Linked DNA regions of Homo sapiens: all the other regions are linked to region 3. Evidence: promoter capture Hi-C in human tissues and cell types (Jung and others, 2019). All regions are on one chromosome and are shown on one strand. Each heading gives the region's core, a stretch centred on a gene start or on the middle of the fragment in contact. The rest is flanking DNA. Distances are from core to core; before and after follow the strand shown. Region 1 overlaps STK38 (serine/threonine kinase 38). Region 2 overlaps KCTD20 (potassium channel tetramerization domain containing 20). Region 3 holds the start of ZNF76 (zinc finger protein 76).

What was found. Contacts are between HindIII fragments. The study calls those that stand out against the background at their distance.
Region 1: a fragment that was not itself captured here is called in contact with the fragment with the promoter of ZNF76 in region 3 in 1 of the 25 tissues and cell types used here (heart right ventricle).
Region 2: a contact is called between a fragment that was not itself captured here and the fragment with the promoter of ZNF76 in region 3, in 1 of the 25 tissues and cell types used here (adrenal gland).

The regions. Positions count from the first base shown.
Region 1 is chr6:36,501,690-36,505,009 of GRCh38, reverse strand. The region is part of intron 9 of STK38 (serine/threonine kinase 38); the gene reads left to right. Among named protein-coding and RNA genes, the nearest start is that of STK38, 44 kb to the left of the region's middle. The HindIII fragment of the contact is 3,482 bases long and covers 1-3,164 here.
Region 2 is chr6:36,449,426-36,453,110 of GRCh38, reverse strand. All of the region lies in intron 1 of KCTD20 (potassium channel tetramerization domain containing 20), which reads right to left. It also overlaps the pseudogene RN7SL502P. Among named protein-coding and RNA genes, the nearest start is that of KCTD20, 8.3 kb to the right of the region's middle. The HindIII fragment of the contact is 8,557 bases long and covers 1-3,685 here.
Region 3 is chr6:35,258,093-35,261,297 of GRCh38, reverse strand. ZNF76 (zinc finger protein 76) reads right to left here and starts at 1,563. Exons shown (of 14, transcript NM_003427.5): 1 at 1,457-1,563. SCUBE3-AS1 (SCUBE3 antisense RNA 1) reads left to right here and starts at 1,843. Exons shown (of 4, transcript XR_001744102.2): 1 at 1,843-2,008. RefSeq lists silencers at 1,131-1,450, 1,461-1,580. The HindIII fragment of the contact is 24,264 bases long and covers 1-3,205 here.

The sequences.
Region 1 (3,320 bases), core at 174-2,673, 1.2 Mb before region 3:
AACTAATATTTATCTATTTTTTGGAAACAGAAGGTAAGGAATCTGTGATTTCTTTTCTTTCTTTCTTTCCTTTCTTTTCTTTCTTTCTTTTTTTTTTTTTTTTTTTTTTTTGGAGGCCAGGATTTAACCTTTGGCTACTGTGCTGACAAGTATTTTGGGGATAAAGCTTAAGTGTTTTGAATTGTTCCTTATATTCCAAGACAAGCTTTGTGCTCTTTGATGTGTACCCAAGGGTCATGTCATGATTAGAGGAACCATTTCTATAGTTCTATAAGGAAAGCAATTTCACAATTTTCGTATTTGCAGTTAAATGTCATTTAATAGTTAAAAACATTTTTGAAAATCTGAATAAACTTAAGGCCCTGATGCTATGGTTAAGGTTCTTGCCTTTTTATACTATATACAGTAGAAATGGGAAAGTGTAAATTAAGGTCATCTTCATATTATCTCTTTTCATAACTTGAAGAAAATGAAGCCACCTCTCAGTCTTCCAAATGTTAATTAACTGTGTTACTTTGACCTTTTGTTAGTGATCCCATTCAGCTAGTACCAAGCTGAAGATTGATATTCGTTAATGGTTAATATAAATTTACTGCTCTAGGTTAAGCCTAACATATGTAATTGCTACTCAGCCTATTACTTTTTAGTCCATTGGGAATCACTAAAAAAAGTAGAGGCTTTAGCTTCATTCCTCGGCTGCTTAAATCATATTGTAATGTTTTAAATTGTTATGTCGTCCTGTATAACCTTAGGCCCCAGTAACTGATTAATATGAGTCAGCTTTAAGTTAATTACAGATATAAAAGGTAATAGACACATAGGCATCCAATCTTGGTCAGTTTAATTTTTTAGGGTTGAATTTACAGAAGTGAGTAGGAAATTAAATTGCTTTATTTCTTCTAAAACCCTGACACAAAATCATAAGGTTAGAACACATTCAGTTGAAATGACTGTTAACAACCAACAGAGCTATTCCAGATAGCAATTTTCATTGACACTTGAAATACCCAGACAGAAAAAAGGAGAAACTGGAGTACAGATTTACGAGGTTGGAGTTGGAGGACACCCTGGTGTGGAAAACAACAAAGGTTTGGGAAGGGGGCAGTCCTTAGATTGGAAAGGGCACACCTGGTACAGATGGTGTGGTAAAAAGTGTGGTAAAATGCGAGCGAGCTCCAGTGGCAGACTCTAGTTTCTGGAATAAGAGCAATACTTTTACCTTCACAGGTTTGAGCCTGTTGTTTGCTATATTTTATAACTCGTTAAGAGTTTTTTTTAATGCACTGGTATCTTGAAGGAGTTCTTTTCCTCTGGCAGTAGACCTCTGGTTTTATAATGGAAATCTTTGAACAAGTAAGATCTGCTTAGATTTACATTCATCTTTGGTAGAGTAAACCTCATCTCTAAATTAAAGAGTTTGTAATTTCTTACCTTTATGATTAGAATGAAAATTCTTGGAGAGGGCCTAATCCACATGTCAGTTTTTAAAGCTTAAAGACAAAAGACAACACTGGCATTTGTGTTAATATCTGCATTTAAATATATATCATACACACACAAACACACACACACACACACACTTAGCTATATGGAAAAAATGGATCCCTACCTTACAGTATATGCAAAAGTCAATTCTAGATGGGAAATTAAACTTTAAAAATTTTTAAAGAAAATACAGGGCAATATCTTTATGACCTCAGAGTAAAGAGGGATTTCTTAAACAAGAACTACAGCTCATAAAGGAAAAAGTTGGTTTATTTTATTACTTTAAGGAAAAAAAACCTTCTATATATCAAAAGACGTAAAGAAATGAAAAGACAAGCCACACAGTACAGCTACTTTGGAATTATCTTTCAGAATTCATGTGTACACCCTACAGCGCTGCAATTCTACCCCTAGTCATAGGCCCTGGAGAAACTGCACATGTGAACCAGGAGACATTCAGAAGAATGTTTATTGCATTTTCATAATAGCAAAAGACTGGGAATAATCCAGTGTCCATCCACAGGAAAACAGTTACATTCTGGAATAGAATATTTTGCAGCAGTAAAAATAATTGAACGAACAGCTACTTGTGACAGTGTGAATCAATTTTAGAAACAAAGTTGAGAGGAAGAATCTAATAGCAGAAGACTGTATATAGAATGGTACCATTTTAATAAAGCTCAAAAATAAAACTAAGATCTCATTTAGAGAGATAGATGGCAAAATTCTTTTTAAAAGCAGAGGAGTGACAAAACACGAAATTCAGCATAGTGGTTAAGAGAAGCAGGAGAGACGAGGAGGAGTACATGTTTAGCTTTAATAATATTGGTATTCCTTGGTTCTTCAGTTGAACTCGTGGCTATTCATTTTCATGATTATGCATTATAATTTGATAATGTATGTAATTAACAGATGTATGTATGTGACATATTTACTTTTGGTAACAAATACTACTTCATTAAAAAAATCACAATAAAAATAACAAGCGTCAATCTGGGAGAAGATACTTGCAGTATACAAATATCTTAAACAGATTAATGTCCTGAATTCATAAAGAATTCCTATGAATCAATAAGAAAAAGGACAACACAACTTAAAAAATACTAATGGACAAAGGATCTGAATAGGAATTCATAATAAAAACCTGGATGGCTAATTAAAATATGAATATGTGCTCAACCCTACTTGAAATAAAGTAAATGCAAATTAAAACAAGATCCCAGCCATGCTGGCACATCCCTACAGTCCCAGCTACTCAGGAGGCTGAGGCAGGAGAATCCCTTGAGGCCAGGATTTCAAGGCTGCAGTGAGCTATGATCATACCACTGCACTCCAGCCCGGGTGACAGAGCAAGACCCCATCTCTTAAAAAGAAAAAAAAAGAGATCCCATTTCATATTCATCAGATTGGTAAAAATAAAAAAAAATCTGACAAAGCCAAGTCTTGATGAGATATGGAGTACCAGAAGCTAATCCCCACCGGGGTTGGTTTAAATAGGGACTAACTACTTTGGAGGACATGGAAGATACCTCAAGTTTAAATGCTTATAACCCAAGGCTCAGCAATATTCTAGTTAATACTCTAGAGGAATGCTTGCACAGTGCCCAAGAAGGTATTAAAAGAATGTTTATTCAGGTGTTATTTGTCATAGTGAAATACTGGAAGCACTGTAACTGTCCATTACAGAAGAACGGATAAAAACTATTGTGACTAATTTATATAACAGTATAGCATACGGCAGAGAAATGAGTGAACTAGAGCTACATGAATAAATCTCAAAACGAATGTTAAGACAAACAAGGCCGGTTGCGGTGGCTCACTCCTGTAATCCCAGT
Region 2 (3,685 bases), core at 572-3,071, 1.2 Mb before region 3:
GCTTGAGCCTGGGAGGCGGAGGTTGCCGTGAGCCAAGATCGCGCCACTGCACTCCAGCCAGGGCAACAGAGTGAGACCCTGTATCCAAAAAAAAAAAAAAAAAAAAAAAAAGCTAAGAAAACTGATAAGCCCTAAAAACTGATCAAGAAAGAAATAATGGTGGTAATGTCTGCACAACTTTGAATATACTAAACCACTCAACTCTATACTTTATATGAGTGAATTGTATGTTATGTGAATTCTCTCTCAGTGAAGTTGTTTTAAAAAGAAAATAAGGCTGGGCGCGGTGGCTCACGCCTGTAATCCCAGCACTTCGGGAGACTGACGCGGGCGGATCACGAGGTCAGGAGTTCAAGACCAGCCTGGCCAACATAGTGAAACCCCATCTCTACTAAAAATACAAAAATTAGCCAGGTGTCATGGTGTACACCTGTAGTCCCAGCTACTCAGGAGGCTGGGGCAGTAGAATCGCTTCGGGAAGCGGAGGTTGCAGTAAGCCAAGATAGCGACATTGCACTGCAGCTTGGGCAACAGAGTGAGACTTCATCTAAAAAAAAAAAAAAAAAAAAGAAAATGAAGATGCACACTACAATGATCACAGATGAAAAAAGACTATCAGTACACATCCCATGAGACTAAAAAGATGAGCAGTTATTTTGTACAATTTATGCCAGTAAATTAGAATTTGCAGATTAAATGAATATTCTATAATTTATTGAAACTGACTTAGAAAAATTAGAAAATCTGCAAAGTCCTATATCTAGTAAAGAAATTTAATTGATAATTAAAACTTTTCCAGAATCCAATGGCTTGACTAGCAAATTTTCCCACACTTTTAACGAAGAAATTATATCAAACTTTCTCATGAACATAATCACAAAAATCCTAAACAAATTATGAGAAAATCAAATTCAGCCACATAAAAAAGGATAATACATTATGGCAAAGATTGGTTTAACATTCAAAAATCAATTCATATGATTCACCAATTAAAAAAATAGGCCAGGCACATTGACTCACACCTGTAATCCCAGCACTTTGGGAGGCCAAGGTGGGCAGATCACTTGAAGTCAGGAGTTTGAGACCAGCCCGGTCAACATGGCGAAACCCTGTCTCTACTAAAAATACAAAAATTAGCTGGGCATGGTGGTGTGTACCTGTAATTCCAGCTACTCAGGAGGCTGAGGCATGAAAAGCACTTGAACCGGGGAGGAGGAGGTTGCAGTGAGCTGAGACTGCACTACTGCACTGCCTGGGTGACAGAGTGAGACTCTGTCTCTAAATAAATAAATAGAAATCTGTTTGAAAATAACTAAAATAGGGCCAGGTGCAGCAGTTTATGCCTGTAATCCTAACACTTTGGGAGGCCAAGGCAGGAGGATCGCTTGAGCCCAGGAGTTCAAGACAAAACTGGACAACACAGTGAGACCTCGTTTCTACAAAAAATAAAAAAATTAGCTGGGTGTGGTGGCACATACCTGTAGTCCCAACTACTTGGGCAAGGCTGACGTGGGAGGACTGCTTAAGCCCGGAGGTCAAAGCTGCAGTGAGCTGAAATCTTGCCACTACACCTCATCCTGGGTGACAGAGCAAGACCTTATTTCAGAAAAGAAAATAACTGAAATAGTGTGAAATAGTATTGATATATTAGATTTTTAAAAGGCAAGTTGAAACAATAAATGTATCCACAGAAAAAAGATGGAAAAGATTATTCTCCCTTAACTGTAGAATCACGTGACTTTTCTTTTAAAAAGTTATTGTCTTACTGAATATTCTAAAGTCTCTAAAATGAATGTGTTATTATCTTTAAAATAAGGAAAAATGAAAATGTATCTCTAAAAACAGATACCTTCTCAAGAAAACATTGGAATCATTGGAATGGTTTCTTAAAAACTGCTTGTAACTAGGTTCCATGGCACACTATTGTAGCCCCAGCTACTTAGGAGGCTGAGGTGGGAGGATCACTTGAGCCCAGAAGTTCTGGGCTGTAGTGCGCTATGTCAATCAGGTGTCTGCACCAAATTTAGCATCAATGGTGACCTCCCAGGAGCAGGGATCCACCAGGATGCCTAAGGAGGGGAGAACTGACCCAGGCTGGAAACAGGCAAGTCAAAACTCCTGTGCTGATCAGTAGTGGGATCAAGACTGTGAATAGCTACTATGCTTCAGCCTGGGCAACACAGCAAGACTTCTAACTCTTAAAAAGTAAAATAAGATAAAATAAATTTTTAAAACTGCTTGAAACAGTTTAAGAGAAAATTTTTAAAGTTTAATCAGAAAACAATATATTATCACATAAAATAGTTTGACATTCTTCCATCTAGATTAAAGAAGAAATGAGCTTAATAGATGAATTAGGAATTTAAGTTAATGTATGGAATAGTTTTTCAAGCACATTATTCAGTAGGCTAACAGGATAATCTTAAATATAACATAACACAATGATTTATACAGAGGCATAATATGCTTCTCAGGGTATACAAAAGTAAGCATGGTTCTGAAGAACAGGTAAAGCCAGTCACGTGAAAAAGAATGCTGCCTGGGCCTCATGGCGTAGGACATAGTGATGAAGGAAACGAGCATTCAGATTACCCAACACATAACCTTTCTTTTTTTTTTTTTTGAGACAGAGTCTCACTCTGTCACCCAGGCTGGAGTGCAGTGGCACAATCTCAGCTCACTGCAACCTCTGCCTCCCAGGTTCAAGCGATTCTCCTACCTCAGCCTCCCGAGTAGTTGGGATTACAAGCACGTGCCATCGTGCCCAGCTAATTTTTGTATTTTTAGTAGAGACAGGGTTTCGTCATGTTGGCCACGCTGGTCTCAAACTCCTGACCTCAGATGATCCACCTGCCTCCACCTCCCAAAGTGTTGGGATTACACGCAGGAGCCATTGCACCCGGCCCCAATACATAACTTCTTTTTTTTTTTTTTTTTTTTTTTTTTTAGGACGGAGTCTCACTCTGTTGCCCAGGCTGGAGTGCAGTGGCGCAATCTCGGCTCACTGCAAGCTCCGCCTCCTGGGTTCACGCCATTCTCCTGCCTCAGCCTCCCAAGTAGCTGGGACTACAGGCGCCTGCAACCACGCCCAGCTAATTTTTTATATTTTTAGTACAGACGGAGTTTCACCATGTTAGCCATGATGGTCTCGATCTCCTGACCTTGTGATCCGCCCGCCTCAGCCTCCCAAAGTGCTGGGATTACAGGCGTGAGCCACCGCGCCCGGCCACCAACACATAACTTCTTAAACAGATTGTCGGGGCTGAACTGTGTCTCCCTCAAAATTCATATGTGAAGCCCTAACCCCTAGTCCTCAGAATGTGCCTGTATTTGGAGACAGTGCCTTTTAAACGAAGTCATTAAGGTGGGCCCTAATCCAATATGTCTGGAGTCCTCAAAATGGGGCGAGTAGAACACATAAACAGAGGGATGACAATGTGAAGATGAGAGGTGAAGCCAGCTGGACTTCCTGGGTCGAGTGGGGACTTGGAGAACTTTTCTGCCTAAAGGATTGTAAACGCAATTGGAGAACTTTTCTGCCTAGCTAAAGGATTGTAAACGCACCAATCAGTGCTCTGTGTCTAGCTAAAGGATTATAAATGCACCAATCAGCACTCTGTAAAAACACACCAATCAGCACTCTGTGTCTAGCTAAAGGATTGTAAACGCACCAATCAGCACTATG
Region 3 (3,205 bases), core at 314-2,813:
GCAAGGTATGGGCCACATGTTCAGTCTGTTAAATCCCTAGCACTCAGGACAGAGTAAGATCCATAGCAGCTTCTCATTTCTAACAACAGCTTATGCTAAGGGTTCCCATGAGCCAGGCATGGTGCCCGGTGCTTTACATATGTTATGTCAGGCACTACTATTTTCTCCCTTCGCAGAGGTGGAGACTGAAGTTAAGACAGGCTAAATAATATACCAAAAGTCCCATAGCTGAAGGGCCAGAATCAGTCTGGAACCTAGGTTTGTTATGAACTCAATGCCCCCAAATGAAGCACTCTGCTATACTGCTTTGCAAACATGTTAACTGATGGGGCCTGATCAAGGGAAATGGGTATGCACTATGAAGAGTGAAGAGGGTGATCCGGGAATGAGGGAGTAAGGTTCATGATGCAAGCAGATCCTGGGATGAGGTTACAAGAGGAAATTTCCAGGGTGGGGTACAAAAATGATTGCAAAAAATTATTATCTTGACTGAGAACTGCATAATTTCACAATTTCACAGACGGAAGGAAACTCAAAGATCATCTAACCCAACCTCATCACAGTCATGATGAGAAACTGAGGTCCAGACTGAGGAGGGGACTTCTCACAGGTCCCTAAAGCACAGCAGTGACAGAGCTGGGACCACACACTGGATTGACTGGATTCTGGATTGATCCAGAATTCTCTGATGCCTCCAATTATTACTACTTCATATTAATCTCTATATCCTCCTTAGCACCAGAAAGGTGCTGGACGCTTGTAAGTCATGTGCTGATTGACACTGAAGGGCTGGGATCGCAGAGAGAGATGCCAGTGGGGGTGATTTTAGGATAAAGGCAGACGTGGAACGAGGGTCATACGGCTACAGGATAAAGATACTGAGGGTTGTGTACAAGGTGAGTGCGTGGAAAACTATTGGAGTAGGGCTTAGGAGTCGCCAGCAGAGTTTTGAGGGGAGTCACCGAGTTTGTGGGGAACACAAGGTAGAATCGGGGGGGTTACTGGGCCAGGAGGGTTACCCAGGTTTGGGGGTCACTAAGGAGGAGTGTGGGGATCTCAGGGTCATGTGAGTCACCGGATTAAAACTGAGGGAGTCACTGGTTGGTGGGTCTCTGAGAAGTGCTGGGGAAATTCCTGGGTTAGCAGCCAATGAATAATAACCAACGGTTACCTGGTGAGGTCTTGGGGTCAGTGGGTGGGGTGTGGGGTCACAAGGGTGGAGGCGGGCGCCGTCACGGGGTGAGGTTTGGGAGTCACGGGGGAGGAGCCGCAAGGCGGAAAAGAGGGGCAGGGACCCTGGGTGGGGGAGGGGGCCCGGCCGCGGTCCAGCGGCCAGGCCGCCCTGCTAGGGCCGGAGGGAGGTGGGCACGCCGGGCTCGGGACCTTCCCGGGGTCCTGCGCCCGCCCGGCCTCCCGCCCTGGGCATGGTTGGCCCACTCCTCCCGCAGCCACCAACCTGACAGCCCCCGAGGGCGACTCCGCCGACAGACCGCCATGCACCGGGCCCCGCCACCAGCGCCGGCCCCACAACCCGCCTGCGCCATAGCCCGCCCGCCCGCGCGCAGCTTGCCTCGCGCGATATCCAGGTTCCAGGGCCGCCGCACTTTCCTTTCCTCTTGGCGCGCCTCTACCGGGCCCCGGAACCCGTATAGAAAATACCGGGCACGGTCCACCCCGCCCCCCGCTTCGCCGCGGCAGCCATCCAACTTATCCTGGTTCCGGGGCTCCTGGAGCCCAGGCGGCCGGGATCTGAACCGAGCTCTTCGGAGCCCCGCCCCCACCAAGGCCGGGGTGACGCATGGCCAGCGAGGCTGAGCGCCCAGGGAAGGCGTGCTGACGTCACGACGCCCGGGTCAGGGCCTGGGCGCGGCTCGGAGCCGGGTCGTCGCTATAGCAATCGGGAACCGCTACCTGTCCATTCCAAGGATTCGGTCCAGCAGAAGCGTGAGGAGGTGGCGGAGGCCCCGAGGGCTTTGCGTCATCACTTCTGCGGCCTGCGGGCGAGAAGGTGCGCTTCGGGAGTAGCGCGGGAGGACAGGAGGCGCAGGTTGTGAGGGACGCAGGCCCTGGGGCTTCGGTCTCTGTCCTCCGAGCTCAGAGCCTCCAGGCTTCTTCCCGGCCGCGCGCTCAGCACTCACTGTCTTACGGTCCCGAAGCGCTTTAAGGTGCGCAGTCCGCAGGCCTTGCCTACTGATCTTCCAGCCACCCCTTGAAGGAAGCAGTTGCAGGTATTAAGAGCTCCTTATTGAAAAGGACGATGTAGAGGGGCGGTGAGGGACTCGCCTCCGCAGGGAGGGCGCCCTGGCGGTCTTCTCAGGTTCTCTCTCATTCCCGCGTCAGCTCCACCGTCAGGCTCGAAACCGACTACTCCCTTTTGTAGGCTTGCTTTGGGTTGAACATAAAAACCAAGCCCCTTTACTATTTCCCTGCTGGGAGGGGCTGCGATTGGGAAATTTTCAGAAACCTGAGGGAAAATTAAAAGGGAGCGAGCTTTCGGTAAAAAATCAAATTAAAAAGGAGGGGCGTTAGAGAAGGAACTGGTAAAGATTGCCTTTTAGGAGAGGAACTGGGTGGCTGGAAGAATGAGGTGAGAAACTTTCCCCTCTCTATCCTTTCAGACTTTAACTGGTTTCTTTTGTATCTTCCCCGCCCCGAAAACAATTTAACTTAATAAGAATAATTTTTAAAGGACGTAAACTAGACACAGTTACAAAGTACGGGGTTTGGGGCTTGTGGTAGCTAAAGGTGTCTTTGGGGATGCGGGCATCCTTTTCCTCTCCTGCCTGAAGAGCTTAACTAGAAAGCCCCCCTTTCGGTCTTAGACATCCCCTCTTCCTGACTTGTTCTGGCTGGGACCAGAGTTCAGTTTAGGTAGGCCAGTGAGTGACATTTGATGGTTAGAATTCCTACGGTTAGAATTAATCCCTTCTGTATCTCCTAGTATGGAAATAAACTGCCTGGCCACTATGCTGCCCTCTTTCCATTCCTTTTTGGTGGAAGTTTGACAAGTTATTTCCCATAGAAAATAACTTATAGGCCGGGCGCCGTGGCTTAAACGCCTGTAATCCCAGCACTTTGGGAGGCTGAGGCGGGCGGATCACGAGGTCAGGAGTTCGAGACCAGCCTGGTCAACATAGTGAAACCCCCCCTCTCTACTAAAAATACAAAAAAATTAGCTGGGCGTGGTGGCGGGCGCCTGTAATCC